Linked DNA regions of Homo sapiens: all the other regions are linked to region 4. The links are contacts of gene promoters, found by promoter capture Hi-C in blood cells and fetal thymus (Javierre and others, 2016). All regions are on one chromosome and are shown on one strand. Each heading gives the region's core, a stretch centred on a gene start or on the middle of the fragment in contact. The rest is flanking DNA. Distances are from core to core; before and after follow the strand shown.

Region 1 (2,700 bases), core at 180-2,679, 2.8 Mb before region 4:
GTAGCTGGGGCCACAGGTGTGCACCACCACACTCAGCTAATTTTTGTATTTTTAGTAAAGACGGGGTTTCGCCATGTTGGCCAGGCTGGTCTCAAACTCTTGGTTTCAAGTGATCCACCCGCCTTGGCCTTCCAAAGGGCTGGGATTACAGGCGTGAGCCACGTGCTGGCCTTAAAATTGTGTTTATAAGCCAGGCATGATGGCTCGATACTCGGGAGGCCGAGAGCTGGAGGATCAGTTGAGCCCAGGGGTTCAAGGCTGCAGTGAGCTGTGATTGCACCACTGCACTCCAGCCTGAGTGACAGAGCAGGAGCACATCTCAAAAAAAAAAAAAAGAAAGAAAACTAAAAAGTTAAATAAAACAAAATCAGAAACCAGAAACACAATAAACACTAAAACTCAAGATTGCAAAACACCAAATCTATATTTACACTTCCACATATAATAACATAACTTTAAGCTGAAATATATCATAAATAAAACAAGTAATGTCTACTGTTCGACAACTTAAGTATCAACAATTAAAATAAATCAAACTGGAATGAAATAAATACATAAACAAAAATCCAACGAATTGTACCTCTATTATATGTACTGTTGTCTCAAAGAAAAAAAAATATAAAACCAGTAGTATACCAATAGTTAATACTGATGGACACAAAAACATATTTTGAAGTACAAAGGGCTGTAGGAAAATAATTGGTATTTTTATACATTCAGAAATGTGGTTAAAAAGAGAAATCTGAAAGCCCAAAAAATTCCAGCATAATACAAATCGACTTGTTTTCAAATAGATTTGGTGATTCTTTTTTTTAAATACAGGTTTAAATTCCAGCCCTCTATTATCACATACCCCCTTTAAGATTTATGGTTCTAGTCACAGCAAGCTCTCTGTAACACTCATTGGATTAGGCAAAGATTGAGTCAATCATCTTGCAAATGTGTTAATCTTCAAAAATAGGCTATAAAAGTGCAAAACTATGAAAACAAAATCTAGATTATGTACATATGGCTCAGCTTGTGAACAGGAAAAAAGGTCAATAGTGTACACTTTCCTGATACAAAGCACTTCATTGCAATGCCAACAGACTGATCTCAAATGAGTTCTCCCTTGTAACACAGGAGCTAAGACTTCTATCAAGGAGGACATCTTACGTTGCATAATTTAAAAAAAAAAAATTTTTTCTAGGATTACCCTTGCTCTATGGAGAACAGCGAGGCCAGAAAAATGAACAGTGCAAATTTATTTTTGAAACAGTTTCTTAATAAAATATTTTGTGGTCACTAAGCCCATGTACTAATAAACTCAGCCATGGACAGCATATTAAAGAACAAAAGTTTAAAATATCTAGGAAGCCAGCTGGTGGCCATCTTCTCTAAAACCCAAATTGCATGTGCACTGAGAAAAATGTTACTGCTTCAAAACAACCAAAAATGGGAAAATAACTGAGGTCTAGAAACAGATTTTCTCTTTCTAGACTCCCAGCGGGCTCGGCCAGCAGTTCCTTATTCAAAATCAATGTGTCTATAATCAACTCTAGTATGTCCACAGTTCACCCAAATGCCAGATACATTAAGACTACCAAATACAAACCTAAAATGTTCCCCCCAAAATTTCCCTTAAAACTGTTCCCCAATACCTGCAATTCACAGATATAATTTAGCATTTTTGTTTTTATATACTAATTTAGGCAAAACCCCCCCGCCACTGAATCGTCCAACAAAAATGATTAATTTGACAGAAACAAATTTAAATAACTGCACATACAGTTTATGTTTATACAACGTGTGGCTGCTCTACAGAGAAAATGCTTGTCTGTAGACACACTCTCTTAAAAATCCTACAAGCCATCCCAACGCCCTCAGTCAAGGATCCTGGAGGTTCCAGGACAATCTGGAGAGGCGAGGAAGAAGGTGCCTTCCCCATCTGAGATGCTCAAAGTTGCGATAAAATGCTGCCAGCTTCCGAATGGCTGACCTCGATATCTGCAGCACATATCATAGAGGGTCAATACTTCCATTAACAATTTTAAGACAACAATAGATTTGGGTGGATTCAACATAATACAAAATCATTGACAGTTTAAAAAAAAAAAAACATACATTTTAAATGAAAGAGCACAATAGCAGAAACTGCTCCAAGTGATGAGCTGCATTAGAGAAAAGGAATACACACAGTATTTGAACAAGCAGGTTTACAACTTAGATATTTACAGATTTTTACCTGAGGTGCAAGCATTATATACTTTTCCCCCATCCCGCCCCACCCAACCCAAATGATTTCTTTTCAGCAGCGCTCAAGTATGCAAAAATTCCACTTCTTATTTGGTCAATTCTAAGAAAAATATTATTCAGGGACAAAATAGAGATTTCCAGTCCCCATGTATGTAAGTTCCAACTGTTCCAACTAGTTTGTATTGCTATTTGGTACAAAAGTTAACAGAACAACTTTACACAACTGTAGTGTTCCTTGCAGATTCCTCATATGTTTTATGTACAGTACAATCACAGCTTATTTCAGTAGCTTTCACCATTCGCTTCTCAAAGGATGAAGTAAAATTTAATTTCATGGGGAGTAAGCACTGACATCCACCAAGACCTAAGGAAAACAACATTTTTTAAATGATTAAGATCAAAACTGAATACAGTTTAGAAAATTCTTTCTTTAAAAAAGCGTAATACATAGAACCAAACTGACCT
Region 2 (2,700 bases), core at 66-2,565, 2.7 Mb before region 4:
GTTCACGCCATTCTCCTGCCTCAGCTTGCCGAGTAGCTGGGACTACAGGCGCCCCGCCCGGCTAATTTTTTGTATTTTTAGTTTAGACGGGGTTTGTTTCACCCTGTTAGCCAGGATGGTCTCCATCTCCTGACCTCATAATCGGCCCGCCTTGGCCTCCCAAAGTGCTGGGATTACAGGCGTGAGCCACCGCGCCCAGCCGAATCAGTGATTTTACTGATCAAAAAGTATTGGTTGTTTTTTATTTATGTGACAACTTCCGCTCTTAAGTTTATGAATTCCTTTGTATATTAGATTATGGAAGTGTCTTTAAGAAATAAATACAATTTTAAAATATCTATCTACAGGTAATATCCACATCTCTATGTCTATCGATAGAGAATAACATTTAGGGAAACGGAGAGGGGAGAGGGAGCTAGAATGGAAAGGGCACCTCACAGATGATTTCTCCCCTAACAAATTTTTGTTTTGTTTTGTTTTGCTTTGAGATTTTACTTTTTTGCAAGAAGAATCTATTTAGGTATTAGTTGAATTTTTCATCGGTCAGGTCCAAAGAACAAGGGGGGGTGGGGAGGGGACGGCGGGAGAGTGTGGCAGGGTGTGGGCGGGGCAGGAAGAAATGGGGGCCCACCCTGAAGGCTTTCTTAGGTCCTTTTCTCAGCCATTTTCCTCCTTCCCCAACCGGAGAATTGCCCCGCGTGTGCAAGGAGCGGCGTGCCTCCACGCAGCAGCAACAACAACAGCCGCGCGAGTGGCCGCAGCGTCCACGCCGCCCGCGAGTGGCCGCAGCGTCCACGCCGCCAGCGCAAAGTCGGTGCGCACAGCCTGGCGCGAGTTCGAAGCTGGAGAGGGCTGTAAAATAGATTGGGGGGCGGGGGAGACCACGTGATTTTCTGGAACGCTGGCTCGCCTCTTTATTTTGATTCTCGAGTAAACTTACAATCCCCAAAATGCGTTGAGGGCATCGGAAAGAGTAAAGTCACGTTCCGCTGGAAAGGATCACTTCTTAAGTTCACATGAACCTATTCTTTGATCCTCCTTCATTGCTGCTTAAGATTTACTTCTCTTTCAAATCAAATAATGTGTTTCTTTCTCATTCTGAGAAAAGCTTTCAAGATGTGATTTCCCTTTTGAAACACTTTGAAGTCTTTCCCCAGCACATCCTTTCTTAAAGGGATTTGGTAAGAGGAGATAGGCCTGGAGGCCAGGGCATTTTAAAGTCACTTTCCAAATACCCTGTGTTCCCTTAAAGAGTCTTGAATTGAAACATCCCAGCTGCTGGAAGACGTTTCCAAATGTGACTCTGTGGCTGCAACACCCTAATGTCTTCTCTCCTAGGACCCTGGTGGGTCATAAAGACAGACAGAGCAGAAAGGAAGCCTTTAGTTTTTTAAGTAAAGCCACTTCCATGGGCTTCCTAAAACAACAAGGATTCTCACATTTAGTTAGTCCTCTCTGTTAGGACATCAAGGGAGAAACAGCTGAAATCCAGGGCTGAACATTTCCTGGCGCGGCTAGATTTGAAGCTTCCAGTATGTGGAGTATCACCTTCATTCCCTCTGGGGGCGTCTATATGGTTTGTGCCAGGTGGGAGCACCTGCCCCGTGGTGGCCAAAAATACTGACAGCAATTCAAGCTTCTCACTTCCGAATGAGATGTTTGTACACGAAGTGACCTTTAATTGTGTCTTAGAAACTCATGTCAGATCAACATGTGGTTTCACTTATTCAGGAGAGGTTATTACATTTCAAGCTGTTTTGTGTTAGTTTTTAGCATTTAAATGAAGTATTTTCTCTTTCATATATTTGATGTGGCTCAAAGAAGCTTGCTTCTTTTTCTTTTTTTTCCTTCATAGATTTTATTGTTTGATTAGATCTTTTTGTCAAGTCAGATCAAAGATGGCTTTTCCTTTCTTTAGGAGAGAGATCTTTTATGAAAACAAATCAATAGAACAGATTTCACAGTAAAGAGGCATTTTGTTTAAAAGATTTTGAAAAGAGGAAAAAGATTACAATGAGGGTAGAAGAGAGATGTTTTTATTTTTGTATTCTATTTGTCTGTCAAAGAGTTAGATGAAAGCAAATACTTTGGCATTCTCAACTTCAGATTTACTGTGGGGAGGCTTTGCAGACTCAGCTAGATAGACACATCCTTATAGAAGAATTCACTTTACCTTTTAGCATCTGGGAATATCCGAGAGCTGGTGGCTCCTCCCTACCTATCCCTGCTCCCTCCTAAGATGATGTAGATGCTGGATTCTTGGCTTTTTGGCATCTTTTTCAGATGAACTCCTTCACATGCTTCAAGAGAAAATGCAGGAGTTTCTAGATAGCATTCATGTTTTTGTAGCAACTTTTAGTTCCCTCTATCCAGGGGCTACCACAGTATATTGAAATGATGTGTTTACTTGGTGGCTATGCTGCTCTTTAGGGGCAGGAAAGGGCTGGTTCACCTTGTCCCTCTCCCTGCTTGTCGGAGCTCAACAAATATTTGTCAATCTGAACTGAACAAAGGCAGAAATGTGGTCAGTATTCCCTGTGCTATTTCTTTTTTTTCTTTTCTTTTTCTTTTTTTTTTTTTTTTGGGATGGAGTTTCGCTCTTGTTGCCCAGGCTGGAGTGCAATGGCACGATCTCTGCTCACCGCAACCTCCACCTCCTGGGTTCAAGCAATTCTCCTGCCTCAGCCTCCCGAGTAGCTG
Region 3 (2,700 bases), core at 136-2,635, 2.5 Mb before region 4:
CTCCCCTCCCTTCTCCTCCCCTCCCCTCCCCTTCCCTTCCCTTTTTTCTCCTCTTAAAGCCACCAACTGTGCTAGGTATTTGTATGTTTACTCTCAGATCATTTTTCCAAGCTTCTCTTCAAACTGCATTTCCCAGGTTCCATTACCAACTGGCTTCTGGTTAAGTTCAGCCAGTGGGCGGCACTGACACGTATTTTTCCTGCCTCCTCCCTCCAGTCAACAAAAAGGTACTGCTTGCAGAAGCCTCCATTGGGTTCCAGCTACCCTCAAGCAGCCTCACCCCCATCCACATGGGGTTCTATTTCCCACAGGGTGCCGGGTTCCCTAGCTCCAGAAGCATCACCTCTTCCCTTTGGCTGTGTGTCTCTAGTGGTGGTTCTTTTTGTAGCCTATTTCTATTTCTTTCTTTCTTTTTTTTTTTAAATTATACTTTAAGTTTTAGGGTACATGTGCACAATGTGCAGGTTAGTTACATAGGTATACATGTGCCATGTTCTATTTCTAATCTCCGGGTGGGCCTCACGGCCCCATGGTTGTCTTTTCAACTCTTCCAGTACCTTTAAAACTAGCACCCATATTAATGTCCTTCTATTCAGCTCCTTGTCATGGGATAGAGGTTCCCGAGAAAACCCTAAGACACAGATCACAGATTTTTCTTTTTTTTTTTTGGAACAAAGTCTCGCTCTTGTCCCCCAGGCTGGAGTGCGATGGTGTGATCTCGGTTCATGGCAACCTCTGCCTCCCGGGTTCAAGGGATTCTCCTGCCTCAGCCCCCCGAGTAGCTGGGATTACAGGCGTCTGCCACCACACCCGGCTAATTTTTGTATTTTTAGTAGAGATGGGATTCTCCTTCCTCAGCCCCCCGAGTAGCTGGGATTACAGGCGTCTGCCACCACACCCGGCTAATTTTTGTATTTTTAGTAGAGATGGGGTTTTACCATGTTGGCCAGGCTGGTCTAGAACTCCTGACCTCAGGTGATCCACCCGTCTTGGCCTCCCAAAGTGCTGGGATTACAGGCGTGAGCCACCGCGCCTGGCCGACACAGAGGTTTTTAACCTAAGACACAGACCCTGAGACAAAAACTTAGGTGCAAGTAGTTTATTTGGGAAGTGATCCCAGGAAGCACAAAAGGTGGGGTGGGGGGGCGTGCTCATGAGTATGTTACTGCTGTGGGTGACGGGTGGCTCGGTCTTGCTGAGGACCCTTGAGAGAACACAAAGACGACCCCTCAACATTGTCCCACTGAGAGATGGGGCAGCTGAGGTGTTTACCTTTCCTCTCCCATCTTTCACTGATTGAGAATTGTCCTTCGGGGCATAAAATTTCAGGTATTTTCAAAATGCCATGCAGGTGGGCTAAACAAGCTCCTACAGCCCCTGGAGAAAGCCACCGAGAGGAAAAGCAAAGAACGAGGAGTTTTGGGGTGGGAAGCTGTCAGTGCTGCAGGTAAACTCGGGTAGTCTGAAGACGATGGGGCAGGGCAGCCACAGCACCTACTGCCATGGCGACTTGGCCACCGTTATAAGTAGATGCAACTGTACAACCAAGGATAGCCAAGGGTGGACCTGAGCCCCCTCTCCAGAAATTCTGCCTTACTTTAGAATGGGGTGAACAGCAGGGAAAATGAACATTTTTCTTTGCTTTTTCTCCTCCCTCCTTTCTTTTTTCTAGATAAGCCAGCCAGCCAACTGCTTATGAGGATAAGGAGAAACTGGGGCAAAGTTTAAGGATGTCGCAAAGTCTGGGTGGCCTTCAGTCCATGAAAGAGAACACATCTGTTCTATCTCAGGCTGAGGTCATCTGCATCCTCATCAATAAGCTGACTGAGCACTCATTACCTGCCAGACACGGTGCCTACATGCTCTAAATGCACGGTCTCGTTTATTCTCAGCAACTTTCCGAGGTAAGTGCTGTTAGCATTCCCATTCCACAGAGGAACAAACTAAGGCTCTGAGAAGAAGTAATTTGCTCAAGACCTCACAGCCTGGGATCATGGGTATGAATCATCTGGGTGAATGATGAGGCCAAATCCCAAGTCCATGTTTATGACACTTAGAAATAACCATTTAAATGTCCTTTGAAGGGTCAAAACCATTTAGAGGTTTTATCTCTTTCTTACAATCTTCAAAGAAGTTTAACACCTTATAATAAATATCTCACAGATAACTCAGGTCACTTAGTGAATATTAGTTGAATTGCTTTTGTATTAGATCCTACCTGCAGCCAAAATATAAATCTATGTTACCCTCCAGCTCAAATATCTTCCATGGCTCCCCATTGCCGTCAAGAGACAATTTAAACTCGTTACTATGGACTTTTTACTCCAAGTCCTTGAGATCCATCTGTGCCACCTCCCCAGCTTCCATCCTCTTATCCGTTCTCCTCACAGTCTCACTTCAGCCATGCTAAGCTACCTGCCATTCTCTCTGTGGACCCTGGGCTCTTGCACTTGCTGTTCTTCTGGGAGCCCTTTTGTCCAACGCTTATTCATTCTGTGTGAGTTAACTCAACTGTCACCTCCCCAAAGTGGCCAACCTCCACCCACTGTGGTCTTGCGCCAGTGCCTTCCCCTGAGTCCCATGACACCCTGCATTTGCTTCTCTTACATTGTATTATTATTATCTTTTTGCCTGCCTGTCTCTCCCACAGACATGAAAGCAAGCTTTTATGTACTTAGGTTGGATTTCAACCTTGGCTCT
Region 4 (2,700 bases), core at 201-2,700:
AACAGTGGGTAAGTAAAAGTTGATAAACAGCAACAAGGAAATGCACACTTGTGTTAATCAAATATTTAATTTCACACATGCTCTAATGCTTTACTTCCCTTACAATTCTAAGTAGCAGTCTAATGAGATCACATAGGCCTAACAACATTTATTCAACATTCTTCTGACAGAAGCTACAGGCATTTGCTCCAATTTATTCTACCTTTCTTTCTAGGGAAATTGAATAACAAGCAGAATGGAATAAGATTCTAATCCAGAATTCTGGAGACAACGCCAAGGAGACTGCCCTTCAGGTGACTCTAATCTGCAACCAGATTGAAGAACCAGATGACTTTCACAGGATCCATTCAGTTCAAACCAGAAGTCCTACTATTTTGAATAGAAAAGCTGTTAGGCTAATAGCGCAGGAGGTTTATACGGTTTATTCCTTCCTCCCTCAGACCTGTGCATGTCTGCAGAGATGAAGGGAAGGACGAACTGAGTAGGTTGCTGAAAAACGTTTAATTCAAGGGACAAGGAAGGTTACGGAAGAGGAAGAGACATTACGAGAGTTAAGGACAGTGGCTACGTCTACCTCAGCCGGATGGTTCTTAGAAATGGAGACTCTGAGGCCTAACCCCAGGTCTAAAAAAACAGATTCTGCATTTTAACGTCCCCAGACGATTTGTATGCACCGGTCTGCATCCCTAGTTCTCAATGAAACCTAAGAATCATCTGGAGAGTTTGTTAATAACTAGACACCTGGGTCCTACCCCTCAGAGATTCTGATTTACCGGGCTCTCGGTGGAGCTATATGTTTAACAAGCACTGCAAGTTATCCCGGTACAACTGCTCCAAGGTCTACGGTCTGAGAAGTACGGACCGGGAAGGCCTCTGCAAGGAGGTTCTCATTCATCAATTCACCCACTCATCCAGCCAGGACAAGGGCCTTCTTAGGCTATTCTATCTAAAGCGGCCCCCGTTAAACCGCACTCCTGCTTTTCCTCTGTAACACCCACCCCAGCTGCAAGTTCTCCGTACGCTTACCGTCTGTCTCCCCACCCACTAGAACGTGAACTCCAACACAGCAGAGACCTTCTGTGCTTTTCTTACCCAGGTGATCTCGGAGGACAAAATCCAATCTGAAGCCCACCCACCCCTCCCGCGCATGTCAACACCACTCAACAAACCCCTTGTACCTCTAGCTGTAATAAGTAACAAGCAGTATCCTACAGGGCGCCTCGGTGCCCAGGAGCGGATGCAAAGGCGCTGGGCGGGCACAAGGCAGCGCCAAGGACACTCAGGGACGGAGGAACCGACAGGGGACTTGACGCTCCGCCACTCCGACCAGCCGCCCCTTGTCCCCGCCGTCCTCGTCCGCCACTGAGATATCCCCCACGGTCTACCCACCCGTCGGCTCCCACCTGCGACCCAAGGACCCAAGTCTTCCAAGAGCTCAGCCGTTAGAATTCAAAGGTTCTTCTTTTTAAATAGGAGTTAAACCCTCTAGCTAGAAAGCCGATTGGCCTGCGCTCGAGCGAGGCTGCCTTGTGATTGGTTGACAACAAACCCGACGCCTTGAGTCGCGTTTAAGGGCGCACACCGCGCGCAGGCGCACTTGCTCCCTAAGAACCCGGAAGTGGTGGAGCCAACGGCCAGCCAGACCTGTGGCAGTCCCAGCCCCAGGGTGCTCTCCGCGGTCGGCCATTTATCGGTGAAGCAACAGCCCCTTGACGTCAAGCTTGACGCATTGGAGATAAAGTCCAAGGAGGTGAACTAACCTTTGAACGTGCCAGTAAGTAAGATGGCGAGAAAAGCAAGAGAGAGTGGGACCGATCGATAGCGCAGCGGTCGGCTTGGCGCCCTTTCAGCGTGCGCAGTGAACGTGCGCTCGGAGCGGTAGATTGGGCAGGATTCGCGCCTCCATTTTTCCAGGAGAGAGCGGGATACCAAGAGAACCGGACCAGCTGGTACTGGGACACGGGGAGAGTAGCTGGTGCGGTCGGCTGGGGCATTTAGAGAAAACCACAGAAACGACTGGGGCGAGACTGGAAGAGTCGAGAGTTAGCAAGGTGGCATGCGCCTCTACTTTGCGTTTCCTAAGTTGCCCGGCTTGGCCTGCACCCCTTCCTCTTCTCGAAGGGCCTCGCTTCCATTCCCACCCAGTCCTTAGTTCGCCTCTGCATCCAGATGGTCGCGGCGCATATAGTGAGGGGGCATCTGTGTTCTAGCCTTTCCAACTGCGATGTATCCGGTCCTGGATCGGGTTCTTGTCCTCGTGTGCTCACCTGCAAATTGGGGATAATTAGGCTTCTGTTTACCTGGCGAGTGAACGTTCTGTGGGAGTTGAGAAGTTAGGGGTGGGCCACTTAAAATATATATATATATACACACACACACACATATACATATATATACACACACATATGTGTGTGTGTGTGTGTGTATGTACACCCGGGATGTGCTCAGCAGAAGTGAAGAGACCGGATAGAACAGTGGTGTAGGGGAACCAAAAATGGCTTCCCTCCATCCTTCCAGGTACCTTATTAGGACTAAGAGTTAAATTCACATAAGACGAATTAACAGATTACTGCAGGGTAAACAGGATGTGCATGTAAAGCATTGAGCTAGCATACGGAAATTATTCGAGTCATATTAACCCAACGTTAACAGTAGAATCTCTCATCAACTTTTCTTTGCCAGACTACCCACTTGTGATTT
Region 5 (2,700 bases), core at 159-2,658, 2.3 Mb before region 4:
TTTTGTGCAGACTCCTCCTGCCCCCAGTGATGAATCCAGAGGAAGCAAAAGAACTGGTTGAGCAGAAGACACCCTTCTAACATAGCAAATGATCTTTCCCCCCATTCTTTATTGAATTTATTTTTTTTCTTTAGTTGATGTGAGCTGCTTTTGACTATGCTGGTTTTTTTTTTGTTTGTTGTTGTTGTTGTTGTTGTTGTTGTTGAGATGAGGTCTCTGTCTGTCTCCTAGGCTGGAGTGCCGTGGCACGATCTTGGCTCACTGCAACCTCTGCCTCCCTGGGTTCAAGAGATTCTCCTTCCTCAACCTCCAGAGTAGCTGGGATTACAGACGTGTGTCACCACGCCCAGCTAATTTTTGTATTTTTAGTAGAGACGGGGTTTCACCACGTTGGCCAGGCTGGTCTCAAACTCCCAACCTCAGGTGATCCACCTGTCTCGGCCTCCAAAAGTGCTGGGATTACACGCGTGAGCCACTGCACCCAGCCAACTATGCTGATTTTTAAAAAACTTCATTGTACCTTAACAGCATTTACAAAAATCAGATTTATCTGATTGAAGTATAATTCACATACAATAAAATCCACCAACTTTAATAGCACAATTCAGTGCATTTTGACAAAATATGCAGTCATGTAGCCTCCACCATGATGAAGGTATAAAGCTTCTCCATCATTGCAAAGTTTCTCGATGCCCCTCTGCAGTGAGTGTCTCAACCAGCCCCAGCCCCTAGCAACCACTGATCTACTTTCTGTCACTACATTTGTGCCCTTTCTAGAATTTTATATAAGTGGAATCATGTAGTATGTTGCCTTTTGTGTCTGGCTTCTTTTTCGTAGTATAATAATGTTGAGATTCATCCATGCTGTTGCATTGATCAGTAGTTCCTTCTTATTTATTGCTAAGGAGTATACCATCTGCTATAGCCTGAATGTGTCCCCCAAAATTCATATGTTGAAACTTAGTTACCATGTGATCATATTAAGAGGTGAGGCCTTAAGGAGGTGATTGAGTTTAGAGGGCAAAGACCACATAAATGGAATTATAGACTTTATAAACGGACTTGAGGGAACTAGTTAGTCCCTTTCCTGCCCTTCTGTCGTGTCTGCCATCTGAGGACACAGCATTCCTCCCCTCTGGTGGGCACAGCAAGGCGCCATCTTGGAAGTAGAGAACAGGGCCCTCACCAGACACTGAACCTGCTGGTGCTTTGATCCTGGACTTCCCAGCCTCTAGAACTAAGAGAAAAAAATTTCTACTTTTTATAAATTACCAGATCTATGGCATTTTGTTATAGCAGTACAAACAGATTACGAGACCATTGTACGGATATACCCTAATTGGATTATCCGTTCTTCTAATGATAGATATTTTGCTCTAATAATTCTCAAGATATTTTTGGGTTCAAATAAAACAACTATTTGAAAAGGATGGAGACAAATTGAGGATACTAATTTAAACAATTGCATTTTGGCAGAACAAGCACATAAGCCTCTCACCCAAAGTTTGCAAGCAAATGTGTTTGTCTTAGTGGCATTGCAGGTAAATCACATGGTATGTTGTTTTAACATCATTAGCAACCTACTCCAAAACGGGACACTCAAATAACATCTAAAATTGGTGAGTTAAGCTAGAAATATAACATAAGCAAAAACTGAGACATTTTGATTTTTTAATATATTGTTACTTAAGATGAATAATAATACCAAACTTTTGAGAAAGATCTCCAATCCACATGGATTGTATTACTTAATGTTTGTTTGATATCAAATTCCCATGGTGGTTTGCTCTTACTAAGAAAAAGCACTCTACACGATACATTTCTTTCTAGGAGGATACAGAATGTAATTTCATGTTTTAGTTTAAAAGAGGTATTTTCCCTGATTGATATCTCTCACATTGTATCGAAAGACAAATAAAAGACTTACAAGGCATAAGGGATGTAGGAAAGACTAGTTTTAACTTTTGATCTTAAAGTTCCAAAAGATATGTTAGGCAGAAATAATACAGTTAACTTCAAATAGCAATGGCAGTCTTTATGTCAATTGACATTAAATCCAAGACAGAATAACTTTCCTTATGTGTTTACCACATGCCAGACACTGTTCTGAGAGTTTTAGGAGTATCAACTTATTTAAACCGTACAATAACTTAGAAGCTTTGGTCCTATCATTATTATAATTCCCATTTTACAGATGACAGAACAAAGAAGCTCAGAAACCTGCCCAAGCTCACATATTGGAGCCATGATTCAATGTAGCATTCCAGCCTCTTTGGCTGTTTGCTTAGCCATGGTACCATTGCTGCTTCTAAATAAGCCTTCATAGGAAATATTATTGGATGCCAATGGTATTAGTCTGTTCTCAGGCTACTAATAAAGACATACCTGAGACTGGGTAATTTATAAAGGAAAGAGGTTTAATGGACTTACAGCTCCACATGGCTGGGGAGACCTCACAATCATGGCAGATGACGAAGGAAGAGCAAAGGGATGTCTTACATGGCAGCAGGCAAGAGAGCATATGCAGTGGAACTCCCTTTTATAAAACCATCAAATCTCGTGAGACTTATTCACTATCATGAGAACAGCATGGGAAAAACATGCCCCTATGATTCAATTACCTCCTACTGGGTCCCTCCCATGACACGTGGGGATTATGGGAGCTACAGTTCAAGATGAGATTTGGGTGGGGACAGAGCC
Region 6 (2,700 bases), core at 61-2,560, 2.7 Mb after region 4:
GCCAAGGCGGGCGAATCACCTGAGGTCAGGTGCGACCTGACCAGGGCGAATCACTTTGAGACCAACCTGACCAACATGGTGAAACTCCGTCTCTACTAAAAATACAAAAATTAGCCGGGCGCGGTGGTGGGCGCCTGTAATCCCAGCTACTTGGGAGGCCAAGGCAGGAGAATCGTTTGAACACGGGAGACGGAGGTTGCAGTGAGCCAAGAACACGCCACTACTCTCCAGCCTGGGCAACAGAGCGAGACTCTGCCTCAAAAAAGAAATTTAAAAAAAATTTGCCTTCAGAGACAGTTTTAAAAACATAAATGGCTTTGTAGCATATTTATTTACAAGGCTATACTAATTAAAACAGTGTGGCAACGACATTAAGATCAGCGGAACAGAGCAGGTAACTCGGGAAAAAAAAGGATTTCGCTGCTTAAATTTGTGGCTCTTTTGTAAATGGAATCAGGGACCTAGAAGAGAATATAATTCTCCACATCCAACTGGTTCAAGGCTTAGTTTCGTTAGTAAACAGTTCACATTATCCAAAAAGATGTTCCTGAACGTGGCCTCAAAGAGCTAACACGGGTAGGCCCTGACGATCGTCCTTTTCCATCTCTCAGATGAAAATGGGTAACCCAGGGTCACACGCTTGTTACAGCCAGAGCTAGACCTTGAATTCCAAATCCAAGGCTCTGCTGCGTAGATGAACGAGTTGTGAAAAGGCTTCACATCCTGGTGGTCAGAGTTCACCCGAAATTCACATTCGAAGGTAGAAACTCCACCCAAACGGCGGCCAGGGAAAGTACACTCTGGAGAAAACCAACACCTCCCTCTTGGGATCCTCGGGTCCACGTCCCAAAGTGGTTTCACAGGGCGGGATGGGGCAACCCTGAGTGCTGTCAAGGGCTTCGTGCTCCGCGACGCCCCCAGGACCTCAGGAGGCCGCCGGCCCGAGGCTACCTCATGGTGGGGGACAGCCCGGAAGTGACCCCGTAGCCCTGCCGGTCGCAAGGCCGCCTGGGTCTGGAGGTCGGAGCCGTCCCCTCGGCTAGGGCGCCTCGGGGTCGTGACCTTGGTCTGCCCTCCGTGTCGCCGGGGCCCGCAGGCTTCAGAGTTCGCTCCCCTCGCTAGGCCCGACGCCTAGAAGCCTCCTGCGGGCCGCCTCTGCCTCGCCTCTACTCCAGGGCCGGCGTGCCTGCCCTCCACGGAGCCGACCCGCGCCCCAAACTTACTCAAAGACGTGCTCCGAAGTCCAGATCTTCATGGTGCCGGCACCCTGAGAGATGTCCGGGTAGCGCCAGGGGACAACGAGGCACAGAGGCTACACCTGCCCCTGCCCCGCCCCCAGCACCCCAGCCGGCGGCGCAGTGCGCAGGCGCTGTCGGGCCCGACGCGAGGGACGTCCAGACGCGCGGCCCCACGCCCTATCCCGGCCCGGGTTTTGCCCCAGCCTTGCGCGCGGCGCAAGGAAACCCCGCCTCTTAGCGCCGGGCGCATCGCGCCGGCGCAGTGCCGCCGACGGCAGCTGGAGGGGCCGGCGCGGGCGCTGTGCTGCGCAGGCGCGGCGGGCTTGTAGCGAGCCTTGACCTCTGGGCAGAGTTGGGTCAGGTCCAGGAGGTGCCTGCGCGCCCGCTTGGCCCTCCTTGTCCTTCTGGCCCAGCACATCCTCGCCTGGCATTTCGAGGCGTGTGGACGCATGCGGTCAGCCTGCTGACATAGATGTTCGTTGTGGTGGTCACTTGTGCAAAATTTCCTGGTGCCCTATAGAGAGTTCCAGCCACCTCCTGGGTCAGCCCGGGCTGTTTTCCCAAATCCACCAGCCACCCAGCCGATCAGCTGGGCCAGTCCCACCTGCCCGCCAGGAGCTTGCAGCCCTCGGAGGGGATAAATAAGGCGTGACGCGGAGAAGCTAACATCAGACCTGCCCATGAATAATACCCCTACGAGGGATGCGGTCCGGAAGCACGGTGCCAGGGGTCGGGTAGAAAAGCTTCCTGGCCGGGCACACCTTGCCCTAGGTGCATAGGATGGATCTGAGCTGAGATGTCTCTCCCAGAGAGACTTCCCTCGTCACCGTTTCTCACCTTGTTGCTCTGCTCCGTCACAATATCCTGTTGCATTTTTTATAGCACTTACCCCTCTGACATCATCTTGTTAATTTATTTGTGAAAATTCACAATCGAACTGAGTTCTTGAAGGCAAGAATCTTGCCGGTCTTGCTCAAAAATCATCCTCAGTGTCTCCCATATAGTCAAGGCTCAATGACTACTTATTGAAAAATGAAAAAAATCAATAGCTATTTGTGGGATGAATGAATTAATGGAGTCATCTAGTTTATTTGTTGTAACTTCCGCTAGACTGTAAGCCCCTGAGGGCGAGGCTCTTGCCAGACTTGTTCAGTGATTTCCCCCTTCCTAAATGACAATTATTTGTTGCATCAATGGATGAAAGAATGACTAAGAATTGCTGGGGCAGGAGGAGGTGGCATGTGGTTTCATTCAGAGATGAGCCTTGTCCAGGGAACAGACTGCCTGGCTTAGCTTTCAGAATATGGCTTCCCACCCTGCTCTCCTGCACTCTCCACAGCCGTCTACCTCCTAACAGAACAATTTGCCATTTTCAATGAAGGTTATGGAGGAAAATCTTTACATCTAGTTACTTAGAAGCTTGTTAGAAGGACCACCTCATTCTTGTTCTTAGCTTGTTTGA
Region 7 (2,788 bases), core at 151-2,650, 2.8 Mb after region 4:
TCTACCTTCTGGGTTAAAGCGATTCTTCTGCCTCAGCCTCCTGAGTAGCTGGGATTATAGGTGCTCACCACCACAACTGGCTAATTTTTTTGTATTTTTAGTAGAGAAGGGGTTTCGCCATTTTGGCTAGGCTGGTCTCTAACGCTTGACCTCAGGTGATCTATCTGCCTCGGCCTCCCAAAGTGCTGAGATTACAGGCGTGAGCTACCACACCCAGCCCCTTGTAGTTTCTTTATGATCACTTTGTATTCATAGCAATGTTGGAGCTTTTCCAGATATGGTAAATGGTAGTGATGTCAATTTTCCTTTGAATATATAAGGGTACATAAGAAAAAGTGAGTTGATATAAAGAAAATGAAAGGAAAATGGTCTGTGCAGAGTCGGTGTTTCTCCAAGGGTAGGCTGTGGTACTCGTGGCTAGGGTCGGTTCTAGATACACTATGGATGCTGCAGTAAATAACATTGACTCACACACTGGGAAGGTTGTTCCTGTTTTGATTCTATTTACGTATTTATTACTTTCATAAATTAGCCTCTTTGTTTTGAGAACATTGCAGATTCACCTGCAGTTGTAAGAAAAAAATACAGAGAGATCCCATGTGTTTTTTACCCAGTTTCCTCCAATAGCAACATCTTGCAAATCACAATCAAAATATTGACAGTGATATAGTCAAGATACAGAACATTTCTGTCACCGCAAGGATGCGTCGTGGACACCCCAAATCCCTCCTGCTCTCCTCCTCTCTCTCTCCCCCCCAACCCCTTAACCCCAAGCAATCACTAGTCTGTCCTCCAGTTTTATAATTTGTCATTTCAAGAATGTTATATGAATGGAATCATTCAGTGTGGTGTGTAGCCTTTGGGGACTGACTTTTTTCATTCAGCATAATTCTCTAGAGATTCATCCAAATGTTTCATGTGTCAACGGTATGCTTCTTTTTATTGCTCAGTAGTGTTCTGTGATATGGATGTACCACAGTTGGTTTAAATATTCATTGTTGAAGGGCATCTGGGCTGATGCCAATTTTTGACTATTACAAATAAAGCTTTAGAAACATTCATGTACAAGCTTTTGTGTGAACGTAAGTTTTCATTGTGAAATAAATGCCCAGGAGTGCAGTTGCTGGGTTGAATAATAGTCCCATGTTTGATTTGTTAAGAAATGGCCACCCTTTTTTCCAGAATGGCTGTGCCACTTCACATCCACACCGAAATGGATCCTGGCAACGTGGGCAGTGTTTCCAGATCCTCGCCAGCATTTGCTGTTTCACTATTTTTTATTCTAGCCATTCTGACAGGTGTGAAGTGATATTTTATTGTGGCTTTAATTTATATTTCCCAGGTGGCTAAAGATGTTGAACACCTTTTCGTGTGCTTATCTGCTGGCTGTATACCGTTTTTGGTGATAACTTGCTTCATGTGTTTGCACACTTTCTAATTGGATTGTTGTTGGTTTTTTTTTAACTGTTAAATTTTCATAGTTCTGTATAGATTTTAAATATAAGTCCCTTGTCAGATATGTTGTTTGTGAATACTTTCTCCAGATCTGTAGCTAGTTTTTTATTCTCTTATTATAAGCAGGGGTTTGCACAGAGCAAAAAAAAAAAAATTAACTTCGATGAGGTCCATTTTATTATATTTTCCTTTTATGGCTCATACTTTTTGTTTCAAGTCTAGGAACTCTTTCCCACTTTAGAAGTCCTAAAGATTTTCTCCTGTGCTTTTTTTCCCCTAAGCTTTTACAGTTTTATATTTCACATTTAAGACTGTTTTAAATATTTTGAGTTAATTTCTATATAAGTAAGATGTGAGGTTTAGGTCAAGGTTTTTTTTTTCTTTTTTCTTTTGCCTGCGGAAGTCAATTGTTTCAGCATCATTTGTTGAAACATCTACACTCTCTCTACAGAACTGCTTTCAACCTTTGTCAAAAAATCAGTTGGCTGAGGCAGGAGAATTGCTTGAACCCAGGAGGCAGAGGTTGCACTGAGCTGAGATCGTGCCACTGCACTCCAGCCTGGGTGACAGAGCAAGACTCCATCTCAAAAGAAAAAAAAATCAGTTGGGTATATTTGTGCAGATTGATTTATGTTTTTTTTTTTAATTATTTTGTTCTACTCATGTCTGTGTCTATTCTGACAATACAGTCTTGATTACTTTGGCTATATAATAAGTTATCAAGTTAGGTAGACTGATTCTTTACACTTTATTATCTTTCTTCAAACTTGTTTGAGTTATTCCAGTTCTTTTGCCTTTCTATATAAATTTTAGAATAATCTTGTCTATGCCCACAAAAATATCTTACTAGGGTTTTGATAGGAATTGCATTAAACCTGTATATCAATTTAGGGAGAATTGACATTTTTACTATGTTGAATCTTCCAATGCATGAACACAATATGCCTCTTTATTATTTAGACTTTATTTGAGTTAGTTCATCAGTGTTTTGTAGTTTTCAGTGCGTAAGTCTTGTACATGTTTTATTAGATTTACAACTACATATTTCGTTTTTCATTTAATTTTGGTTTTCAACCATTCATAGCTAGTATATAGAAATGTAATTGACTTTTGTGTGTTGATCTTGTATCCTGTGTCCTTGCTGCACTCACTTATTAGTGCGAGGAGGTTTTTTTTTTTTTTTTTTTGTAGATTCTTTGAGAATTTGTATGTAGACAATAATCTCATCTGCAAGTAGGGATAGTTTTATTTTTTCATTTCCTGCTTGCAAGTCTTTCCTTTCCCTGTATTTTGTATTTCTTTCTTGCTTTATTTTACTGGCTAAAACTTTCAG

The links. The method cuts DNA at HindIII sites, captures the fragments that hold promoters and counts their contacts. A CHiCAGO score of 5 or more calls a contact.
Region 1: a contact is called between a fragment that was not itself captured here and the fragment with the promoter of AURKA in region 4, in 1 of 17 cell types (M1 macrophages). The highest score is 5.2, in M1 macrophages.
Region 2: a contact is called between a fragment that was not itself captured here and the fragment with the promoter of AURKA in region 4, in 1 of 17 cell types (erythroblasts). The highest score is 6.7, in erythroblasts.
Region 3: a contact is called between a fragment that was not itself captured here and the fragment with the promoter of AURKA in region 4, in 3 of 17 cell types (erythroblasts, M0 macrophages and fetal thymus). The highest score is 10.6, in erythroblasts.
Region 5: a contact is called between a fragment that was not itself captured here and the fragment with the promoter of AURKA in region 4, in 1 of 17 cell types (erythroblasts). The highest score is 6.1, in erythroblasts.
Region 6: a contact is called between the fragment with the promoter of PRELID3B here and the fragment with the promoter of AURKA in region 4, in 6 of 17 cell types (total CD8 T cells, naive CD4 T cells, total B cells and 3 more). The highest score is 10.0, in total CD8 T cells.
Region 7: a contact is called between a fragment that was not itself captured here and the fragment with the promoter of AURKA in region 4, in 1 of 17 cell types (activated CD4 T cells). The highest score is 5.1, in activated CD4 T cells.

The regions. Positions count from the first base shown.
Region 1 is chr20:53,566,666-53,569,365 of GRCh38, forward strand. ZNF217 (zinc finger protein 217) reads right to left here. Exons shown (of 6, transcript NM_006526.3): 6 at 406-2,599. All of the region lies in intron 3 of ZNF217-AS1 (ZNF217 antisense RNA 1), which reads left to right. Among named protein-coding and RNA genes, the nearest start is that of ZNF217-AS1, 15 kb to the left of the region's middle. The HindIII fragment of the contact is 4,272 bases long and covers 1-2,700 here.
Region 2 is chr20:53,659,524-53,662,223 of GRCh38, forward strand. No RefSeq gene overlaps it. Among named protein-coding and RNA genes, the nearest start is that of ZNF217, 67 kb to the left of the region's middle. RefSeq lists enhancers at 689-748, 759-818, 1,739-1,798. The HindIII fragment of the contact is 418 bases long and covers 1,107-1,524 here.
Region 3 is chr20:53,935,691-53,938,390 of GRCh38, forward strand. It overlaps BCAS1-AS1 (BCAS1 antisense RNA 1), which reads left to right. Exons shown (of 5, transcript NR_199019.1): 2 at 1,673-1,904. Among named protein-coding and RNA genes, the nearest start is that of BCAS1-AS1, 22 kb to the left of the region's middle. The HindIII fragment of the contact is 2,552 bases long and covers 110-2,661 here.
Region 4 is chr20:56,390,765-56,393,464 of GRCh38, forward strand. AURKA (aurora kinase A) reads right to left here and starts at 1,451. Exons shown (of 9, transcript NM_198437.3): 1 at 1,404-1,451. It overlaps CSTF1 (cleavage stimulation factor subunit 1), which reads left to right and starts at 1,881. Exons shown (of 6, transcript NM_001324.3): 1 at 1,881-1,949. RefSeq lists an enhancer at 1,597-1,836. The HindIII fragment of the contact is 5,454 bases long and covers 1-1,718 here.
Region 5 is chr20:54,051,552-54,054,251 of GRCh38, forward strand. All of the region lies in intron 3 of BCAS1 (brain enriched myelin associated protein 1), which reads right to left. Among named protein-coding and RNA genes, the nearest start is that of MIR4756, 16 kb to the right of the region's middle. The HindIII fragment of the contact is 1,494 bases long and covers 662-2,155 here.
Region 6 is chr20:59,041,476-59,044,175 of GRCh38, forward strand. It overlaps PRELID3B (PRELI domain containing 3B), which reads right to left and starts at 1,311. Exons shown (of 6, transcript NM_016045.3): 1 at 1,224-1,311. The coding sequence starts at 1,255. It overlaps SLMO2-ATP5E (SLMO2-ATP5E readthrough), which reads right to left and starts at 1,371. Exons shown (of 6, transcript NR_037930.1): 1 at 1,224-1,371. RefSeq lists a silencer at 1,229-1,628. The HindIII fragment of the contact is 2,130 bases long and covers 1-1,979 here.
Region 7 is chr20:59,165,833-59,168,620 of GRCh38, forward strand. The region is part of intron 1 of ZNF831 (zinc finger protein 831); the gene reads left to right. Among named protein-coding and RNA genes, the nearest start is that of ZNF831, 3.4 kb to the left of the region's middle. The HindIII fragment of the contact is 667 bases long and covers 1,068-1,734 here.